Linked DNA regions of Homo sapiens: region 2 is linked to region 1. Evidence: promoter capture Hi-C in human tissues and cell types (Jung and others, 2019). All regions are on one chromosome and are shown on one strand. Each heading gives the region's core, a stretch centred on a gene start or on the middle of the fragment in contact. The rest is flanking DNA. Distances are from core to core; before and after follow the strand shown.

Region 1 (5,352 bases), core at 2,705-5,204:
GAGTAGAGGGTGTGTGTGGCTCCTGCAGCCCCCACAATCTCAGGAGCCAAAGATGAGCACCTGTGGCTGTGAGGGCAGCAGTGGGCCTCTCCTATCTCCCAGTGCCTGTGCACGTCTCTATCTGTGTGACAAAGCACAATGGGGGGCACTGTGCCAGCTGACAGGCACAAGAATGTCAGTGTGAGCTCCCTGGAGAACGGAACAGGAGAAAATGAAAATGCAGTAAGGAAGCTCAAGGGCCATGTTGTGGGCTGCCGGGGAAGGTGGATGGGGGATCGTCAGAAAAGGAGGAATTCACTACTTGCGAGGCTGGCATGACTTTGCTTCTATCTCCACTGGTAGCCCACGCTGGGCGTGAGAATAGCCTTTGCCCTGGGGATGAGGATTCTCCCATTAGCCCCTCCAGAATTCCCTCAGACGACCTCATGGTGAGGGCTGCTGTGCACCACGGAAGCTATATAATGGGGCATGTTCTCCGCTGTCCAAGTGATGGCTCCATGCTGGCCTGGCTAGCCCCTAGCCTTTCCTACCCCACACGTGCCAATCACCTCCCTCCACGTGATGGCCGCTGCCATCACAGGGGCTGCAGCAGGGAGGCCTGGCTGGGGCTGCATACTTCACGGAGCCAGTAAGAGCTCTGCCCCTTCTGAGATGGGGCGGGAGCTCCCCGGGTACCGCTGCAGTCACCCAAACTGTGACTGCAGACCCAGGCCTCCTGCTGTACAGATCAGGCAGGATCCCAACCCTCCTGTGTGGGTCTACAGCCACCCAAACTGCAGCTGTGGATCCAAGCCTCCCTGAGCTCCTGGGTGGGAGCCAGGGGCAGGCAGGATCTGCCCTTCTGCGTGCAGCTGCAGCCACCCAACCCACAGCTGCAGACCTCAGCCTCCTGCTCCACGGAGGAGGCAGGAGCCAGGACAAGCAGGAGCCCTGCCCCTTCCGAATTGATGGGGCAGGAGCTCCCCGGGTGCAGCTTCGGCCACCCTCCCAGGAGCAGGACCCCGGCATCTGTGCATTCTGCACCTCCAGGGCCTGGGAAGAACCACCCTGTACCCAGCCCCCCAACCCCCATCCCTGCAGGCTCAGGGCTGTCTGCTTCCCACTGCCTGGCCTCTCTCTGCTCCCACTCTCAGAGCGGGGTTGGGGCCTAGCCAGGGACCATAAATGGCAGTGGGAGGCAGACAGAGTCCCTGGAGGGAGAAGGCGGGTCCCCAGTAAGGCCCCGCCTTCAGGCCAGGGAGGGCCTGAAGGCCTGGCTGCCAGTCCCTCTGACTGGAGTGGGGACTTGTGGTGTCTCCCTCTGGCTGCCCATGGACCAATCAGCATGCACTTCCTCCCCTCTGAGGTGCATAAAAGCCTGAGGCTCAGCCAGAGCAGGGCAGAGGATGGAGAAACGATGGGATGGCCAGCTGCAGAGAGGAGCTACCCTCTCTGCTGAGAGCTTCAGAGACCTGCAGAGGTGTTCAGAACAACTTGCCTGTGGAGAGGAGCCACTCTCTCCAGGGACTTCTGTCTGCTGAGAGCAGCAGGTGGCAGGAGGACCAGTGGGCAGAGAGGAGCTACCCTCTCAAGGGCCTTCTCTGCTGAGAGCTGAACACTCAGTGGGAGGGGAGGACTTACCTACAGAGAGGAGCTCACTGCAGATCACCTCTGAGCTGTTCTAGCATTCAATAAAGCTTCTCTGCATCTTCTTCACCCTTCACTTGTCTGTGTACCTCATGACCTCATTCTTCCTGGAGGCAGGACAAGAACTCAGGTGCCACAGAGGTTTCTGGGAAGAAAATTGACACCCAAAAATCCCACACAAGGACAGATGAGGGTCCATTCTCTCCAGTGGCACCTATAGTCCGCCAGGGGTTCAGCACCTACCTTCATTTTGGATCTGAGCCTTTATGCATTTACTGGGTCTTGGAATGGGAGGTTCGGCTGGCAGGGACAGCCGCTGTCTACATCTTTCCTACTGCATGATGCGCCTGATATGCAGGCGGTGGTGGCAGGTGGGGTCCCCCTCCCACATCCCACCAGGGCTGTGTCTAGGAGCCACAGAAGTGGACTCTGCCCATTTCTCTCTCTCTTTGCATTTCTGCTGTGACAATCTCACCTCTCCCCAGGCAGCATGGAGGAATCCAACCTAAGGGCAATGAAAAGTTTAGGCCATGTTCTCGTTTTCGAGCAGCCCCTCTCTACAAGTGCAATTTTCCTTCTCTTTCACTTCCCTATGTGGCATGCAAGGGCCTCTGCAATGTGGTCCCATCCACTTCTGTTCAACCTTCCCTTCCACTAGTGAGCCACACACTGGTCTGGCTAACCCCTAGCCTTTTCCTACCTCCCACATGCTAATCACCTCCCTCCACGAAGAATGTCTGTCCTCGCAGGCTCTGTCCTCCCGGGCTGCCCATGGCTTCCCTGATCCTACTGTTTATGCAGCATCCATCTTAAGTATACCCTGTCCTTGAGCCCTCCTCTGTCTCCCCAGGCCCGGGGAACTGCACCCACTGTTTGAGCTCACTGTTCAGCCCCTTTTGCTGTCCTAGGGACATCTGTTCACATTAATAAGCCTGGGTGCCCAGTCTCACCAGCCTGTCTGAGCACAGACAGTCACCTCCAGGTCCATGCCTGAAGCTTGCTGGCTCCCGTCTCCCACCCATGTAGCGCCCTGTCACCTGCAGAGGCCCCTCTACAAACACAGGCACTTCTGGGAGTCCCTGGGGTGTGCTACTGAGGCAGAAAATTTAAAAATACATATGCCTTCATTCACTCCAAGAAAAGTAACAGGCAAGGCAAGGGTTAAAAAGTAAAGGACAAGTTTTCCTCTGCCTATAGCAAGCCCACTGCAAGGACAGTTATAACAGTGTCCAGAAAGCCAAGGCCAAAGGAATGGGCTCCAGATACCCGCCGCCCCACTTCCAGAGCAAGGTTGAAGGAAAAAGAGAGAAAGACAAATTCTTTTACTGTTACTGTTTTCCCAGGCTTCTTAAGCATGATTGTGTTTTACAAATGTCTGTACTTAGCCAGTTCTTGTTTTTCTTTCAATGCAGCTACAAAGTCACCCGCTGTGCAAGGCCACAAGTTATGCTATGCTATAGATTATGTGACCTATCATGATTAGCTGCTTTTGTTTTATTTATTGTAAGTCCACTTACAAAAACCCCGCTCTGTCTTTGTTTAATGCTCAGCTTTTTGGATGTGAGTCCACTGAGCCGGTGTGTACCTAAAATAAACAATCCTCCTGTTCTTCACATCGGTCTCTCCGGTCCTCAGTTTCCCACAACACTGCATGTGCTTGAGCTGCTCGTGCCTCAGCTCTGGCCTGTTCCCTGGAGGGGACGTCAGTGTGGGCTGCAGCTGGGTGGCTGGTGCCTCAGTCCGCTAATGCCCAAGTTGCACCATGGCCTACAGTAAGATGGGGTGGGCTGGGCTGGGGTAGTGCTTGCTGCTTCTTTTCTGACCTCTTCTCCACTAGAGAAATCCCAATCCAGCACCCTCCTGCATTTCTAAGTTGCACGTGAACAGGTTTTGCAGGTTGCCTCACGACAATGCCCCCAGGATTTGTTCCTTACTGACCTTGTCCTGAGGAGAAGGTTATGGTGGGTTAAAAATTGGTCATCAGCCCCTTCCTCGTGGTTAGTTAGTGGAGACTGCAGTCTACTCTCTTTCACTGTTCGGGGACTGCTACCCTGCCTCCTTGGAGTCCGAGCTTCACTGGCACAAAGACCCTGAACCCAGCTGGAGCGTTTTCTCCTCACTTTGAGCCTCTGCAGCTGTCGCTCTCTACAAAGCTCTCAGATACCTTTCCCCTCCTTCTGTGACCCTGGAGAGATATTTTACATGGGAATTCAAGATTTTTCTCAGAGACAGGATGTGACGACTTCCTTGTTTTGTTCTATCCATCTTGGTTTCCATAGCCAAGGGCAGAGCAAACGGCATATATCTTAGGGTGGAAGATGGATAAATAATTCTGTCACACGTGCCCTGGCCTCTGGAGCTCAGCTGCCAGTCCACGTCTAGGGAATCTTAGCATCTGGGACCAAGACACTTTACAGCAATCATCACCCTTTGCAGAGGAGGTGAGCTCACCAGGACTCATCTGCCATTTCAGACCTTTTGCTGCTACCTGCCAGGTAAGTGGCTCATTCTCAACAGCTGCCTACACCTCCATCTTTCAGAAACGGCAATCAGAAAATGAAGGTGGGAGGCTTTGGGAAGGCGTACAATTAGTGGCACCATTTTATTATCCGAGCTTGGCCGCAGCATGGGATGTTTCGAGTGTGGCCAAGAGGAGATGTCCACGCCCGTTTAGGTGGGCCGCATCTCAGGAGGCAGGATCCTGATACATCCCATTGCCCCCACCAGACGAAAAAGATTTCAAGCCTCATTGCGGTTCCCTTCTTGGGGCAGTCCATCTTCCTTAGAGACTAAGAGGGTGGAAATCCTCTTGTGGACCTATCGAAATCAAACCAGCGCAGGCAGTGAGCACTAGCTGGGGTCTGCCGGGGGGAAGGGCATTGCAGGGGGTGTCGGGGAGGCCCGTGGGAGAGGGCCAAGGCCCCACTGACACCTGCGGACTTGCAGCTTGGGGAGTGGAGGACAGGAGACAGGCAAAATTCACCAGTTACACAGCTTACAGAAGTAGCAAAGCAAAGACTATACTTCAGGGATAATTTCTGTACTTTGTTACTAGAGAAGTTTTCCACTCTGGGACCCCACAGTCTCCGCAGACATATGCAGAGCAAAAAATACTTCCTGTGTTTGGGAGAGCAAGAGACATGGCATTTATTAATAACATGGATTTTCCTGCCAGGTTTCATAACGTGGTCATTTAAGTGTGAAATGTAGTCTTAAAATTATGTTAGAGAATCCCCAAGGTTTTGCTCTGCCCCCATGGAAACACTGGGATCGCTCAGGACGCCAACAGCTGCATAGCAGGCGAGGGACTCCTGTGGGAGGACGTGGCCTGTGGACACTGCCAGGTTCGGAGATGTCCTTGGGAGATTTACTATTTGTCAGGAAGATAGTGTTAAGTTCAGGCAAATAATTATATGTGTGGACAGAATCTGAAATTCACCAATAGAGTAAGTAAGAGTGAGAGATTGTGAATGTGTAATACAAATGGAAAAGCAGGTTTTATTTTGTTAAGTTATTCACCAGGGAACCAACTGAAGTTCCTTCTAATCCTCTTTTTCTCCATTCTTGCTTTGCTGAAAGTTGGAGAAAAGGACATGTGTAGAGAAAATGGGATGCTTCAGGGTGGCTCAGAGGACACCAATCCATAGTGATTCGCCTGAGTTTGTCAGGTGGAAGCAGTGATTTTTAAGAGTCACTGATTAAAAACAAACAGTCCTAAGTGTATTA
Region 2 (5,586 bases), core at 2,287-4,786, 190 kb before region 1:
TGTTGTTCTTTGTTGTGTTTGCTGTTTCATCAACTTTTGCTCTCATTCTTATCTCCTTCAACTTTTAAAAAGATAGTCAATTTAACAACGTTTGTACAAAATTTTTATAAAGTACAGAGCATTTTTATTAAGCCTTAAAATAATCTTGTAAACAGGTCTTTTCCCTCATTTTACAGATGGGAAAATGACAGAACAGGAAATAAATCCATATTATTGCACTGAATGGAATATGGCCCCATGGTTTGCACCCAAGACCAGAGGAACTTCACCTGCTCCTCTCTGGGGCTTTGCCCTGCCCACCCCAGGACCACTACTTATCCTCTGAGATCTTAAGGGACACTCACCAGAAATAGCCATGGTTAAGATGGTAAAAGTCTGGCTCTCACCAACCCTTCCTACAGTAATCTCCAGCACATCTGAATATTGCTGGGAAAACACAGGGGAAACAAGATGTGTACCATGTGAGTGAGCAGGCTGCCCAGGCCAGAAAGGCAAGCGTGAGGCAGCCCTCAACCCCCAACGTGTGGTTACTGGCCTCAGCTGGAGGCTCCTCCTGCTGAGCCCTTTTGCAGCCCGACAAAGACAAAACATGTTTGTTTAGAGACAATGGATTGCTTACTTAGAAGCAAGATACCACTCAGGAACATCCAAAAAATAACTTTTCTCATGTTTCTTCTCAAGTTTTGTCTGAGTAGGGGGTGGTCCTTGAGGGATTTCCTTGACTTCCAGGTAAGAGTTGTCCTCCACTGCCCAAGCATCTAGATGCTGAGTCTTTGGACAGGGCCACCACACTTCAGACTTATTCCATACATTCTTATGCAAATACTTCTCATTCTAGGCAGCCTTCTAAGGACCTTAACACTATTAATGTTTCCAACCCTCATTACAACCTGAGGTTGCTACTATTATCTTTACAAAAGACAGGTGAGGGCCCAGTATGGTAGCCTGTGGTGGTTCAGGCCTGTAATCTCAGCACCTTGGGAGTCTGAGGCTGGGCAGATTACTTGAGGTCAGGAGTTCAAGACCAGCCCAGCCAACAATGATGAAACCCTTTCTCTACCAAAAATACCAAAGTTAGCCTGGCATGGTGGCGCATGCCTGTAATCCCAGCTACTCTGGAGGCTGAGGCATGAGAATTGCTTGAGCTCAGGAGGTGGAGACTGCAGTGAGCTAATGCCCCTGCACTCCAGCCTGGGCGACAGAACGAGACCGTCTTAAAAAAAAAAAAAAAAAAAAAAAAAAAAAAAAAAAAGACACGTGAGGACACACAAGTTTAGTTACTTGCCTAAAGTCATCTGGAAATAAGTGAAAGTCCTTATTTGAACTCAGGCTTCCTTGTGGAGACCATGTCCTCGGCCACTATACTTCACTGACTCTACACAGGTTTCATGCAAACGGCTTCCTTCGCACAATGACACTATCCAGACCTGAGAACCGCCAGGTCTAAATGAGAATGGCTCCTCAGTAGGAAGACAATTGAAGTACTGTATTCTGCTTCCTTCTCCATGTCTCTAGGCCTTTAGCTGAAGCTGGAGAAGAGAAATGAAGGGTCTCCCCAGCCCAGGAACTCCTTGGGTACAGCTGTGGCCAATTACTCAAGGTCTTGATGCAGACAGACTTCAGGTCCCCAATGTCTGCCTTCAGCTAACACCATCTTCAGGTGTTGTCCTGGTGGTGATCCTCTCATTTCTGAATCCCACGGAGGAAAATTCCCCTGCATTGCAGGATTGGTGTTCAGTACCGTTTCACGCCCAGTGTCTTCATACACAAAACATGAAATTATTTTCCAGGCTTTCACCTTCAGACAAATTTGCTAATAGAGACATGCACTCCTATGGAAGGCTATTCCATACTCACTGTTTTTTCAGGCTTTTCTTTTCTCTTTCTCCTCCCCGCTTTTCCCTCCCCCTTTATTTTTCCCACTTGCATATCGTTCTCTGGAAGGAACCGGGGGTGGTGCCTAAACCATGTTCCATCCCTGGTCTGAGCAGGCTCAGCCGCACCAGTTCATTGGGTCTGTGCTACAAGGGAGACCCCACCATGTCTGGGATCAGCCTGAATGGCTTGTATCTGGCTGTAGGTACACTTGAGGACCTGGGCCCATTTCTGGAGCATGCGAGTAGATGGGGGCCGCAGTAGGAGCTTGTCTGGTGCTTAGTGGGGCTGAGGCACTCAGAATCCCCACCTGAGCTGTGGCCATCCTCTCCTTTGTTATTTAGCCTGCATCTCCCCAAAAGTAGACAGTGCATTAGGTTCAGCTGGAGCTCAAGTACGGGAGCTCTCCTGTGTGAGGAGCACATGGAAACCTCAGGTTAAAAACAACCAAAGCTGGTCTCATCTTCAGCAAAAAGAAGCCCAATCCATGTCCCCACGACTACGGGGAACGAGTACTCCATGGCACCCTCCTTCCTGCCCACACATCAGCCCTGCCAGAGACCAGCCTTGCTGGAGGATGCCTGGGCACTTCCGTAGCTGCCTTTACTCAGGTCATCCTAGTTCCTACTCCTCTCAGAAAACCCAATTCAACGTCCTGCCCAGATGTCACCAATTCCTCCCTCTTGGTTGGTCCTAGTCGCTGTCCTCTGAGCACCTGCAGTCTTAATTCATCCATTAGGGTGGTTGTGCTCACAGCCTTTCTCCCTTTATTCATCCTCATCTACCAGAATCTACTCCTGCTGCCATCCTCTCCCACCCAGTACCTGGGACAGGGACAGTGCCTAGTAGATCCTCAAGTATTTGCTGAATAAATCAGTCCAAGTCTGTGTATAGGGTCAGGCTTGCCAGTGTCATGTGCAAAGGAGGATAGAGAGCAAGTATGATCAGAACAGTCCAAGTGGAGCAGTGGTAGAAATGCTCCATCTCCCTTTCCTCCCTCAACTCCACCCTTCCCCACCGCAGCCATCAAAACTTACTGGTAGGGGTTTGGATACAAAGTGAAACAAATATACTCCTAGAAAGAGCATGGAAACTATCTGGCTACAGAGATAGGAGTCCCAGAAGGAGATGGGAAACTACATGGCTGAGATTGTTCTCTTGTAAAGACAATGGGTTTTGAAACCAGATACCAGACTTCAAATTCAGCCTTTGCTGATTGGCCCACTCACAGTATTCTCAGACAGGTTACTCAATTCTCAGAAGAGTCTATTTTTACCCTTTGAGTTACCTAGTTAACAGCTTCATACACAGCAGTAGTTTATGTTCAATTCTACATGTTCCTGACAGAGCTGTGTGTGGTGACTGATCACTCACACAACCTACCTGCTCCCGAGTTAGGATCTGGCCCAGTAACGACGATCACATGGCTCCACTGTGGTCCCCTCAAAATCTATCCTGTGCTCCTCCTAGGGAGGCACCTTCTAACTTCTGGTGAAACCAGCTGAGCTGCTAGCCCTGTGGGATGAGTCTACTACCCTCTCTGGTTTGGATCTGGTATAACTTACCCAACAAAGATCTGGCACACAAATGGCTCTTGGGTATCCTCCATCTAAACTCACAGCCCGTTTTGATTTAAGGAATTTCTTTATTGGAATTCCACTTTACCTCGCCACAAGGAGCTGGCTTTCATGACAAAGAGAGAGTGAGCCCTGAACAAAGTATTCGTTAACATTTTACAACAGACAACATATACATGTCCTGCATGACATCTTTACAATAACACATTCCAAAAACAATCAAACATTTAACAGGATTATTAAGAAACATTAATTTCCTTCTCTCTAGATGACTGGTACTTTAGCTTTTTAGCTTCTGCAATAAAATGCGTTCCTTCTCAGCATTTCTATTCATAGGAATCCCTGAATCACTTCTGTCATGTAAGGTGCGAATTCATGTTGACGGTGTGTTCCATTAGTTACTGAATGTGTCAAAATCCTCTCCACGGTAGAACCTTTTATTGTAGCATAATGTGTGAATACCACTTCCAGGTTATCCCTCATCACAAATTCATCATTCATTATGGGAGTTCATCTGAAACTTTAAAAAAGTTTCATCCATTCAACTAATGTATCACAATAGTACGTTCATCAATTTGCATTTTTTATGAGTGACTCTCTCCTATCTCCTGTTAGACTTGTAAGTCTATGCTTTCTACTTTTCCTAAAAGGAAATCCAAATTTTGTTTCAGAAGTCATCATCACTGCCCCCTCCCAAACCAATTACATCAAGTTTATACTTAAAGACCACTAATATTAAATAAATTTATATTCCCTGAAACCTATCCTCCCTGAATTTGCCTGTTGGAGGCCCTTAGTTTTCCCACTGACCAATGTGTAATTGGGATTCAAAGCTATACCTGAATTTCCTACATTTCTAGTAACAGAATTTACCAAACATGAACTTTCTGATGGTGATTACGTAACTTCTAATTGAAGCCCTTTCCTCATCTGTGTTTTATGTCCAGAAATGTCTACTGATTTTGAAGATTTGCTTCACATTCCATCACTCAGATCTAAGTTTTTCTCTCAAGTATGGACTGTTTTATATCCTGTAAGAGCTGAACTACCTTGACACTGGAGCCTTTCTTGCTTGCTATGATTGAAAATCACATAGAAAGGATTCCTCATAATCCTCTAGGATGGTTTCATTTACACTGTGTAAATTACAAGCCATGACCCCCTACATTCTTACATTCATAAGGTATTTCTTCCATTTGAGTTCGGAGAGACTTGGTAAGCTCTGCCTGCTACAGAGGCATCCTCATCCTGCCCCCATCCAGGGCATTCCCTCCCTCATAGGTTCTCTTCTGGGATGTGCCACTATAACTTCCCACATATATCACATTTAAAGATTCCTCTCCAGTATGGGTTCTTTTATGCTTGGTGAGATTTGATCTGATATTAAAAGCCTTACCACACTCATTACATCGGTATGGCTTCTTTCCAGTGTGGATCCTTTTGTGCTGGTCAAGGACTGATCTATAATTGAAGGATTTCCCACACTCACAATTATAGGGCTGCTTCCCCTGGTGGACACTTTTATGATTGATAAGACTTGAGTGTGAGATGTATGCCTTCCCACACTCATCACATTCATAGGGTTTCTCACCTGTGTGGATCCTTTTATGCACTGTGAGGCCTGAGCTGTTCCTGAAGGCCTTCCCACACCTATCACACACATAGGGTTTCTCCCCTGTGTGGATCCTCTTGTGCTGAGAAAGGAGAGAGCTGTAACTGAAAGATTTCCCACACTCAACACACTTGAAGGGTTTCTCCCCAAGATGGACTCTTTTATGGCTTATAAGAGTTCTGCTTGAGAAAAAAGCTTTTCCACATTCATCACATGTATGGGGTGTCCTGCCAGGGTGGGTACTCTTATGGTTAATAAGGCTTGAGTGTGAGATGTAGGCTTTTCCACACACATCACATTCATAGGGCCTCTCCCCAGTATGGATTCTTTTATGAACTTTAAGGCTTGAGTTGTTTCTGAAGACCTTCTCACACCTGTCACATTCATAGGGTTTCTCTCTAGTGTGGACCCTTCTGTGCTGAGAAAGGAGCGATGTGTAATTAAAAGATTTCTCACACACATCACATTTGTAGGGCTTCTCCCCAAGATGAACTTTTTTGTGGTTTGTAAGGGTTCGGTATG

What was found. The method cuts DNA at HindIII sites, captures the fragments that hold promoters and counts their contacts. A contact is called where the count stands out against the background at its distance.
Region 2: a contact is called between a fragment that was not itself captured here and the fragment with the promoter of BTNL9 in region 1, in 1 of the 25 tissues and cell types used here (spleen).

What each region holds. Positions count from the first base shown.
Region 1 is chr5:181,036,312-181,041,663 of GRCh38, forward strand. It overlaps BTNL9 (butyrophilin like 9), which reads left to right and starts at 3,955. Exons shown (of 11, transcript NM_152547.5): 1 at 3,955-4,121. RefSeq lists a silencer at 1-227 and an enhancer at 472-1,398. The HindIII fragment of the contact is 13,573 bases long and covers 2,150-5,352 here.
Region 2 is chr5:180,844,111-180,849,696 of GRCh38, forward strand. ZFP62 (ZFP62 zinc finger protein) reads right to left here. Exons shown (of 2, transcript NM_001172638.2): 2 at 3,501-5,586. The coding sequence ends at 4,682. Among named protein-coding and RNA genes, the nearest start is that of ZFP62, 14 kb to the right of the region's middle. RefSeq lists a silencer at 379-673. The HindIII fragment of the contact is 7,289 bases long and covers 1-5,586 here.